2 separate regions of the Homo sapiens genome follow, and region 1 is linked to region 2. The links are contacts of gene promoters, found by promoter capture Hi-C in human tissues and cell types (Jung and others, 2019). All regions are on one chromosome and are shown on one strand. The core of a region is centred on a gene start or on the middle of the fragment in contact, and the rest is flanking DNA. Distances in the headings are between cores, read along the strand shown. Region 1 overlaps TMCC2 (transmembrane and coiled-coil domain family 2). Region 2 holds the start of CNTN2 (contactin 2).

What was found. Contacts are between HindIII fragments. The study calls those that stand out against the background at their distance.
Region 1: a fragment that was not itself captured here is called in contact with the fragment with the promoter of CNTN2 in region 2 in 2 of the 25 tissues and cell types used here (dorsolateral prefrontal cortex and pancreas).

What each region holds. Positions count from the first base shown.
Region 1 is chr1:205,262,852-205,268,413 of GRCh38, reverse strand. All of the region lies in intron 2 of TMCC2 (transmembrane and coiled-coil domain family 2), which reads right to left. Among named protein-coding and RNA genes, the nearest start is that of TMCC2-AS1, 28 kb to the right of the region's middle. RefSeq lists enhancers at 1-389, 4,452-5,149. The HindIII fragment of the contact is 8,685 bases long and covers 1-5,562 here.
Region 2 is chr1:205,040,478-205,046,063 of GRCh38, reverse strand. CNTN2 (contactin 2) reads right to left here and starts at 2,852. Exons shown (of 23, transcript NM_005076.5): 1 at 2,670-2,852. RefSeq lists cis regulatory regions at 2,994, 3,086 and enhancers at 2,922-3,066, 3,014-3,158. The HindIII fragment of the contact is 16,049 bases long and covers 1-5,586 here.

The sequences.
Region 1 (5,562 bases), core at 2,653-5,152, 220 kb before region 2:
TCGAACTCCTGACCTCAAGTGATCTGCCTGCCTTGGCCTCCCAAAGTGCTGGGATTACAGGTGTGAGCCACTACGCCTGGCCCCAGCCCAGAGCTCTTAAAGCTCCAGCACATGGACCAGGCAGGTCTGAGGCCTCACTGGAGTCATGGGGTTGGATTTCTGAGGAATGAGACAAATTTTCTCTCTGGACTCAACCACTTCATAAGGCTCCTGCCTTGAGCAGGCCTCTCCCTCAGGGCTGACCGCCTACACTTTGTGCCCTGCCTGCCTGCCCTCGCCACCCCATGTTCACTAACAACGCAGCTCAGCGGGCCACCCTGCCTCTGCTGACACCTCTCCCAGGCCCTCCATTACCTTACGGCTCTCCAGAGTCATTGGTAACCTTTTCCGCTTCATAATGGTGGAAGCCCCCAGTCCTTCCTAGTATCCGAGAATTGGGAGAGGAGCATGCCCCACCCCCACCCTGCTGGCCAGGTCCCCGAGGACTAAAGCCCCAGAAGTAACTCAAAGGCCAAGGGAAGCAGGGACCAGTTTGGGGGCCTGAGGCTACTAGCCGCCCAGCTTTGCAGAGGGTGAATGCGTAGGAAGGAAATGACAGCCCCCTTCACTCCCCACCAGGCGGGCAGGCTTCCCGAGTGCATCAGGGTGGCACCAAAGTCGGAGAGACAAGGAAAGGAGAAGAGAGACTAAGAAAGGATGATGGGGAGGGAGAGAAAGGAGGAAAAGGTCACAGGAGATAGGAAAGATGGGAAATGTAAGGTGGGCTGAAAGCGGGGAGGCCTGAGACCTGCTCCCCTGGTGCCTGGTTCCTCTCAGCCTGTTGGAGGATCTTTCTGTCCACAGCTGAGTCCCCAGTGTCTTATCGCCATACAACAACGGAAGCAGCAGGAAATGGCTCAACCCCATGTATTTTTACACACAGCACACCCCAAGCAAGGCTGGGTCAGATCATTTGCCCTTAGTATGTATGGGAGGGGGCAGGGGTGTGGTCAGATATATGTGGGGGAAGGGGTTAAACACAAAGATAGTGGCCCAGTCACATGCACCAGAACTGGAAACAGTCCCTGCCAATTACAGGCATAAGTCACTTGGCTTGATTCTGCCAAGGTGCAAAGTTATTGGAAAACACGATTGAAAATAATAGCCCTGCCAAACTCAGGAGCCAGGGGAGGGCGGCTCCTCTGTGGGCTTCCACTGGGGCTTTTCCAGGTTACACTTCCCCCTGGGGATGCTGTGGACAACCACAACCCCATCCCTAATCACTCCTGAAGTCAGGACTTCCCTCTTATGTTTGCTTTGGGTCTCCCCTCATCCCCCCTTGACCTCCCAGCAGGTGCTCATACCTTCAGGACTCTGCTTCTCAGAATTTCTGACCTTTCATACCCACAGTCTCCCTTAAGTGATCTGCTCCAAGGTCTTAACTGTCCCAGTAGCCTGACTTAAAACCCTAACCTGCAATTAGGCTGCTTCTTCCTGCCTTGTTCCCTGCAGTGACAGCAAAAAGCCCATCTCTCCATTTTCCTGACCTTCAGTGTCCTCGCCGACAAAAAGCGGGTAATCACAGCTACTCTCAGGTCTTTTGTGAGAGCTATACAAGATGACGTCTGGCAAGCTGGCATAGTGCGAAGCATACAGAAGGTGCTCATTAAACGCTGAATCTGAATCTAGGCAGCGTAATCCCTTTTTTCCCCTGGGAGAAAAAATGCCTGCAATCAAGCTGGCCTAAATTTATTTCAGAAATTATACCAACAAATTTACTCTGTATTGCTAGAACTACACAAAATTAACGGTTTTTTTTTTTTTATTTGTTTTTTGTTTTTTTTTGGAGACGGGGTCTCTGTCGCCCAGGCTGGAATGCAGTGGGGCCATCTCAGCTCACTGCAACCTATGCCTCCTGGGTTCAAGTGATTCTCCTGCCTCAGCTTCCTGAGTAGCTGGGATTACAGGCATGAGCCGCCACGCCCGGCTAATTTTTTTGTATTTTTAGTAGAAATGGAGTTTCGCCATGTTGGCCAGACTGCTCTTCAACTCCTCATCTCAGGGGATCCACCCGCCTCAGCCTCCCAAAGTGCTGGGATTACAAGCATGAGTCACCGCGCCCGGCCCAAAATTATGTTTTATAGGCAACACATGGCCTTTGATGTTACAGAACTTTTTTTTTTTTTTTTTTTTTGAGACAGAGTCTCGCTCTGTCGCCCAGGCTGCAGTGCAGTGGCGCAATCTTGGCTCACTGCAAGCTCCGCCTCCGGGGTTCACGCCATTCTCCTGCCTCGGCCTCCCGAGTAGCTGGGACTACAGGCGCCTGCCACCATGCCCGGCTAATTTTTTGTATTTTTAGTAGAGATGGGGTTTCACCGTGTTAGCCAGGATGGTCGCGATCTCCTGACCTCATGATCCGCCCGCCTCAGCCTCCCAAAGTGCTGGGATTACAGGCTTGAGCCACCACGCCCAGCCCAGAACCTGTCTCTCTTATAAAGCTGCTGCCCTTTCCACAGATGCCCAGCTCTCTTTCACTGTCTTCTTGGGAGAAAGAATATCTAGAAAATGGGTTCTGGGGCCAGGTGCAGTGCCTCATGCCTGTAATCCCAGCACTTTGGGAGGCTGAGGCGGGTGGATCATGAGGTCAGGGGTTCGAGACCAGCCTAACCAACATGGTGAAACCCTGTCTCTACTAAAAATACAAAAATTAGCTGGGCGTGGTGGCGGACGCCTGTAATCCCAGCTACTGAGGAGGCTGAGGCAGGAGAATTTCTTGAACTGGGAGGCAGAGGTTGCAGTGAGCCGAGATCACGCCACTGCACACCAGCCTGGGCGACAGAGCGAGACTCCGTCTCAAAAAAAAAAAAAAAAGAAAAGAAAATGGGTTCTGAGTCTGGCTGCATCACTGCCATTTGCTCATCTTTGTAACAGGGACAGAGTCTGTCCCAACTACTTAGGGGGAGAGTGGGAGGAGCTAATAAGAAATGGATGTGAAATGCTGTGAAAAGCAAAAGTGTTTTAGGACTATACAGGAGTGTAAAATAGCAAAGTCTCCACCTGCCGTGGCTCCTTCCTAGCAGCTTGGCTCTCTCCTCCCTTGATTTGGCATCTTTCTGGCTTACAAATGGAAAAGCGGAGTTGAAGCTGGCTGTGAAATCCCCATTAATGAGAGGAGAAGAAACACTCCTGGGAAAAACAGCTGGGGCCTGATGGTGGGTGCAGAGGCCTGGGCTGAAGCCCTGGCCCCCTCGTCCACCCCTCTTCTCTACCCTAGGACCCAGACTTGAGCCTAACAGTCCTGCAGCAGGACACCAGCTCCTTCCGTCCCTCCACAGAGGCCTGGACACCTCCTTGGTGACATGAAGGTCTGCAATGCCTGGATTGAGCGGGTCAGTCTCCAGTCACAGAACATATCCCCATTTTATTCTCTTCCCTGTGGAGGACTCAGTTCCACTGGCTTCCAGAAAGGTGGCATATTTTCCCTATGGCCTCTGGGCTCTTCTCTTTTTCTCAAATTCTAAATGTTTTGGACAAAGGATAAGGATAACAATTATAGTTAGCCTTCTGTATCTGAGAATTCCACATCCATGGATTCAACCAACCATGGATTAAAATAATAATAATACAAATTTTAAAATACAGGGGCCAGGCGCAGTGGCTCACACCTGTAATCCCAGCACTTTGGGAGGCCAAGGCGGGCGGATCACCTGAGGTTAGGAGTTGGAGACCAGCCTGGCCAACATGGTGAAACCCTGTCTCTACTAACAATACAAAAATTAGCTGGGTGTGGGATGTGGTGGCGGGCACCCGTAGTCCCAGCTACTCGGGAGGCTGAGGCGGGAGAATGGCGCGAACCTGGGAGGCGGAGCTTGCAGTGAACCGAGATCACGCCACTGCACTGCAGCCTGGGCAACAGAGCGAGACTCCGTCCCAAAAAAAAAAAACAAAATTAACTGAGTGTGGTGGCATGTTCCGGTTGTTCCAGCTACTCAGGAGGCTGAGGCAGAAGAATCACTTGAACCTGGGAGGCGGAAGTTGCAGTGAGCCAAGACTGCACCACTGCACTCCAGCCTGGGTGACAGAGACTCCGTCTCAAAAACAAAAACAAAAAACAAAAAACAAGAAACAACAGTGTCACACTATTTTCTATTTTCATAGTATTTACATTGTACTAGGTATTGTACGTAATCTAGAGATGATTTAAAGGGAGGATGTGTGCAGGTTCTATGCAAATACTACACTATTTACTGTATGAGACTTAAGCAATCTGGAACTTTGGTATCTGCAGGGGGTCTTGGAACCAATCTCCTTCAAACACTAACATTTCTTGACATACGTCAGACTTGTCTCTCAGTGTTTACACCTATTAATTCATTTAATCCCAGTATTAACCTCACAAGATGGGTAGCACTATTATTTCCATTTTACAGGAGAGAAAACCAAGGCCTACAGATGTAACTTGCCCAGGACTACACCACTAGTAAGTAAAGAACCTAGAATATAAATCCTGTCTGGCTCCAAAACTCAGGGCCTAACCTCACCTTGGAGGGCTGGGTAGCTCTGACAGATCCACAGCTTAAGACACCTTTGGCTGGGAGAGCTGGCCCTCTGCCACCTTTTTAGGAAGCAAGAGTCTAATCAGTGGTTATCAACCACAGCCCAGCCTCACTCCACAGCGATGAAACTGGAATTTCATATAGCTAAGACTGCAGGCTTTTTTTGTTTTTTGTTGAGTCAGAATCACTCTGCTGCCCAGGCTGGAGTGCTGGAGTGCTGGAGTGCAGTAAGGTAATCATGGTTCACTGCAGCCTTGACCTCCCCAGGCTCAAATCCTCCCACCTCAGCCTCCCCAGTAGCAGGGACTACAGGTACATGCCACCACACCTGGCTAATTTGTGTATTTTTTTGTAGAGAAAGGGTTTTGCCATGTTGCCCAGGCTGGTCTCAAACTCCTGGGCTTAAGCAATCCTCTTGCCTTGGCCTCCTAAAGTGCTGGGATTACAGGCCTGAGCCAAGCTGCACTCGGCCAGACTGTGGGTTTTTACACCCTGAGAGAGCAAGGAAAAAGAAAGGAGTTCTCCCCAGCCCCGTCCTGCCTTCTCCATATCTGAGGGCGTGCAAATCCTTAGAAAGGTCCAAATATTGGCCATAGCATTTAAAATCACCTCTGAAGACATCACGGTGGCATCTCCAGCCTTCCTCACTGGAGGTAACCCTTAATCTCACTGGTCTCCATGCAGACTCCACTTGCCCACCCAGCCCCGTCTCGTGCTTAGGGGTGTGTGTGTGTGTACCTGCATGCATGTGGGCAAACCTCAGAACAAGAGAGAGAAGAGGTTTGTGTGTGTTGCGGGAGGCGGTGGGGGGTGCTTGAGGGAACACTCTGTGGGAGATACCAAGATCCTGTTTGTGGTTTTTGCATTCGAGGCTGGAACACCTCGGCAACCACTTCCATCTGAATTAACTCCCTTCAATAACTCCCCCTGCCAACCAGAGACTTTTACTACGGACTCACCACGAGATCCTAGTTGAGACTGAGCTCATTCCTGCTTGTAGCCTGGAGCCCAACCTCAGGAAAGCATC
Region 2 (5,586 bases), core at 1,603-4,102:
TTTAGATTGGGGTTGTAGTCCTGAAGGATGAGGGGGTGGCCAGCATGCATGAGGGGATGAAAAGGATGTCTGCCTTCTTATGGATTCCTGAGTCACATCCACCTTTTACCATTTGAAAGAGGATTACTAGAAGTTGGAAGAAATTTACAGGGTCAGCCAGCCCAACCTTTGCCTCTAGGCAGGACTCTCTAACCTTGGACCAGACCCCAGTTCTCCACACCATCCTTAGAGTCATCTGAAAGGAGACTGCCCCACCTCCTCATGGCTCACTCTTCTAGCCAGGAAGTGTCTCCTGCAGTCTAACTTAAGTCCCTCTGGCTTCCCTGGCATATTCTTTGCTCTGGTTCTTCCTCCCCTGCATATCAATCACCTCTTCTCCAACCCCCTGGTTCTGCCCTAGGAATCCCTCCAAAAATACAAATACCACCCACACTCAGGCTTAGAGATTGTCTTTGAAATACGCTTTCTCACCAACGTTTGGCTCAAGGAGGTTTCTGAAGAGGGCACCATGCATCCTCCAAACCACCCCAAATGCGTTGCTTCCCTGGTGACTTTAGAGGCAGAAAGGATGCCTTGGGGTACACCTGTCTATGTACATGCTCCTAAGGAGTAAGTTTGGTCAGCCAGAGACGAGATGTGCAATCACCCCGTTAAGCACAATTCCTCGGAGGCCCATCCCACATGTGTCTCTATTTGAACAACTGCTGGCAGAGAAGGTGCTGGAATGGAGTTGCATAAGGAGTGAAATCTGGCAGGGGAAATGGTGGCGGCGGGAGGCTGAGGGCTGAAGCCGGTGGAGTACACGCGATGAGAGAAGGGAGTGCGAGGAAAGAAGGAGTAGAGGAAGGGAGGAGAGTAAGAGAGAAAGAGCCGGGAATGAGAGCAGACTCCTGGAGTCTGAGGCACTCATCTGCATAAGGAGTGTGCCTCTGCTTCCCTCACCGCTCATGGTGTGAGCACAGTGGTCTCTGCACCTGTGAGGCAGGTGGACCTTGGGTGACTTTGACATCATCAGGTCAGGGGCCCTTTCCTGTCTGTCTCACCTCCTGCCTCCCTCTTATTCGCTGAGGACTTCCACGGGAGATTAGGAAGGACTCTGACCTTGTGGCAAAAGCCCTGTCCATGGTTCTGCAGCTTGGCTAGAAAGGGGTTAACTGGTGGGCACCCTGGGGAGGGGCTTGGATGCTGCTGTCTTTAAGGGGAGAGCTCCCTTCTCCCAAGGCCAGGAGTGAGGGCACCTGTTGTGACCTCCAGGCCATCTCCCTGTCCAGGTGCGATCACAGCAGCCTCTCCCACAGGTGGCCCACCTTTTGCTGCACTCGATCTCCAGTGGCTCATCCGGCCCCTCTGAGTGGGACCAGGAGGTAGAGAGACTCGGAGGCTAAGTGAGCTGAGGCGTCTTTGGCCAGACGGTTGGGAGAGGAGGCCGAAACTGTTGCCCAGACGAGACCAGAACATCACCTGTGCACTGGGTTTCTTGGGCTGTTCCTCCTCCCAGCTCCTTCTGAGCAGAGGGAAAAGATGCTGAAACCCACCTTTCTCCAGGGCTGGGGCCATGGCATGCACAACCCCACTCCCTCCTGGCCTCACTGGACCCCCCCCCCCAGGACACAGGCTCAACCCCCAGGGGTCTGGGGCTAGAGGGTGCCCGTCTCCATCCCCAAGTAGCAGCAGGATTCTCCCCTTCCATAGGCACTGCCTTCTCCATGCCCCGCTGCTTCCCAGACCTGAGAGACCCTCTTGGAGAAGGTGACAGGATTCAGCTCTGGACACTCACTGGCTGGGGCTGCCCCCCACCTCCAGCCCATTATGTAAGCCCCACGGTGCTGGGCAGAAGGATTGCCCTCTCTTTCCAGAACTCCCCAGCTCTGCCCCTTCCCTTCCCCATACCATTCTGGCCCCAGCCCCTTTCCTTACTGGAAAGCCAAACTTTGTGCAAATTCTTCCCTCCCACCAGTGAGGATGGGGGGGAGGGATTTGAGGAGAAGCTAAGGTTGGGAGGGGGAAGGGAAGGAAAGGAATTTCAGCCCGGTAGCCCCAGCCTCTCGCCCTTTGGGATGTGACTGGCCTCAGGACTCTCCTCCCCGAGTCCCAGTTCCTGGACAGGCCCTTGCCCAAACTTGTGCTCCACTCTCCCCTCTCTCTTCCACAGCCCCCCTCTCCATCCAGCTGAAGCAAGACTTTGCAAAGAGGTCACCCTGCAGAGGTAGACCCTGGGTGACCTCAAAACTGGGGACTCCGGCTCAATTCCATGCAGGGACTTCTGGGGCAGGCCAGGGCCCAGGGCCTGGCTGTATGGACTGGTCCTGTCCTGGACCGGGTGCCCAGGGCCGGCCCAGGAGAAACTGCCCTCTCCACAGGCAGCTGCCACTGCCCGCTGGCCAACTGGAATTCCTGGACACACTCCTGGGGTCCAGCTTTTCGGCCAGGCTCGGCCTGAGAGAGCCCTGCGGGATGCCGCCCACGTAGACAGGGCGGAGGGGAGCCCCAGCACCCACCCTGGGGCTGAGGGGAGAAGTCAGAACGGCCCCAGCCTGCCAGTGTTCCTGTCCCTGTTCCCTCCCAAGTTACAAGGGGGATATTTACAGGAACTGAGCCGGGAGCCCCGGCCCATAACAGCACGCAGGGAAGTCCCTGGGTTGGAGGAGACAAAAGCGGTTGGCACCTACCTGGGGCGAGAGAAGGGTGTTGGCTGGGGCAGGTGGATGCTGCCCGAGTCGGTGAGCCGGGGCCGGCCGGGCCGCCAGCCCCTGTCTGGGCCGCTGTCCTTTGGGCCCTGGCGGCCTCAGCCGCTCGCTGTCCGGGTGCGGCGGCGGCCGCGGCGGCGGTGGCGGGTGAGGGCGCGTGTGTGTGAGCGCGCCCGGAGCCACTGCAGCATCTCTGCATCAAGATGTGCTCCTCCCTCTCCCAGGCTCCGCTCACTGGCTGGCTCTGGTCCTCAGCCAACGCTCGGGGGCCCTGGAGATGGCTTCCTTCTGCCCCCCTCCCACCCCACTTCCGTCCCCACCCTCCTGGCTTTACCTCATTTGCTGTCATTTAAGGACCAGGGAGCGAGCCCAGCGCGCGTCTTCCATAATGCATGGGCCGCTCATGGACAGGCCGCGGGGCGCTGTCTGGCCCGCCTGCCCTCCCGATCCTGCCCAGCCCCACTTCTAGTCCCCCTGCCCAGGGCTGAAGGGGCAGGAGAGGGGCGGGGTGAAGAGGGAAAAGAAAGTGGCTCTTACTCCTCAAACCCTGGAGACCCATGGAGCCAAAACTCCTGGTTTCCCCAGAAATCCCCTATCCGAGGAAGAGATCCAAATCAGAAATCCCAGCTTGCTGTGTGGGGCAAGTGGCAGGGAGGGGCTGTCTCTGTTGCCCGGTCCACCCCATGTTCCTCTTTATTGTTTCCCTTGTTCAAAAGTAGTTTGAGCTTTTTGTCAAAATATCTAAATATTAGAGGACATTTAAAAATACATAGTGAAAGTCCCTCAACCACTACTCTTAATAAATCTAAGTACATGCCCCCAGGTTTATTATTTTCGTGTATACAATTACATGGGTTAGTAGGGTTATTTCACACAAATGTGATTACATAAAACAGTAGGATTGGCCAAAGACTTTTAACTGTGTAACTGATCTTGGACACTTTTACGCATCAGTACGTTTGGATCCAATCCCATTTTTAAGCAACCAGCAGTGTGATGTCATGAAAAGCTCCCTGGATTAGGGGTCTGGGTGTCTGAAGCATACTCTGGGCTCCACAACCGACTGGCTGTGTGTGCTTGGCTAGGTGCCCTGCCCTCTCTGAGCCTCGCTGGTACCTGAAGGGATTAAAGATGGACACAGTCCTGCCAGCTCTGAGATTCTAAGTGCTCACCCTTGTCAGCGATGCCTTTCTCCTGCCCTGCTCCGGTCACGTGGGGGAGTGCCCAGGAAGGCTGTGGCCCGGAGGCGGAGGGACCAGCCATCTGCGGCACCAGTCGGCCCTGTCAGGCTGTCACTGTTGTCTCACCCCCCTCTGATCTGCCTGCTGTCCAGCTTGCACAGGCAAGACCGGTGAGCAGTCCAGATGCTGCAACAGCTGGCAGGGCCAGGCCAGCCTCCCAGTTTTAAATGGCTATACCTGTCAAGCCTGGATCATGGCTCCATGTCTCCCTGAGTGGAGGAGGTCCTGGGGACCTGGGCCAGAATGAGAGGGTCTGGAAAAGGAGAAGGAGTCGGGGAGGTTCTGCTGCTCAGCCTCCAAGGCTGGAATGTCTGCCCAGGTCCCACATGCGCTCCCCTCCTTTCCTTCTGAGCCCCTCCAAAGGGCTTGCCCAACTTGAGAGATAGTCTTCTTTGTTCCTGATGGGGAGGACTTGGATTTTGCTAATGATGTTTCTTAAATAATGTTGAATGCTGTTATATAGACAGACACATCAACCCCTTGCCAGGATATCTTTCCCTTCCTTCCCCTGCCCACACTGTCCTTGCCTATCTGTATGTCTGAGGGCTGGCACATTGGCTCTGAGCTCCTGAGGTGAACCTTGCTCTTTGGCACCATTCAAGTCAGCCTGGGCTCCAAAGAGAGGCTCTGCAAGTTCTCTCCTAGCAGAAAACGGCAGGAACAAGTCCTTGCCAAGAAAAGGATGCTATGTCTGCTGCAGGGGGCTGACGGGCCAGGAAATAGGCTGGCCCAGGAACCAACAGTCTGGAAATGCTTGCAAGGATTGCTTTAGACGGAGACAGCTGTCTTTGTGACTCTATTTTAGGACAGCTGCTGCCCTGTGGTGGGAGCTGGGTCTCTGGGGAGGGTCGTTAGCACAGGTGACTTGGGTCTTAAAGACTCTCAGATCTCAATGCAACCAGCATGCTCCATGTGGACTCTGGCAGACACAATAAGTGAAAACAAGAACATTTGCCAAGCCTAGACTTGGATGGGGAGACAGTTCCCAAAGTCTCATCTTCTCACTTGTCTGAAGCTCTCAGTGAAGTCTAGTATGAATGAGTTTGGGGAGATTAGGGGGATCTGCACTCCCAGTCTCTGAGATGCTCCTGTTCCTGAGGAGAGAGTGGGGTGGGCATTTGGGGGTGCAGGCTGAGTTTTGCTTGTGGGGCCCATTAGCTTGATAATAACAGAAATAATATCTGTTTTGAATGCCTCCCACATGCCGGGAGCTGTGCTAAATGCTTTACCTGAATTACTTGCGCAAGAGGTCCATGTTGTTATTATCCTCACTTTTCAGATGTTGCTCAGTAAGAGTAAGGAACTTGCTCAAAAGAAATAGTAAACAAGTGGAACCCTGGGCAACGTGGCGAAACCCCGTCTCAACAAAAAACACACAAAAATTAGCCAGTGTGGCAGTGCACACCTGTAGTCCCAGCTACCTAGGAGGCTGAGGTAGAAAGATCACCTGAGCCTGGGAGGTTAAGCCTGCAGTGAGCTGTGATCGTGCCACTGCACTCCAGCCTAGATGACAGAGTGAGGCCTGGGATCGGCCTCCAGCATCCTGGCTTAGCCACCGTGCCATGGACTCCAGCTACCTACTGTCTGTTCTTTTGAGGTGGGCAAAATAGGGGGCAGAACAGTTTCTTCTTCTTTGGTGACATCCAGAGCCCACAATC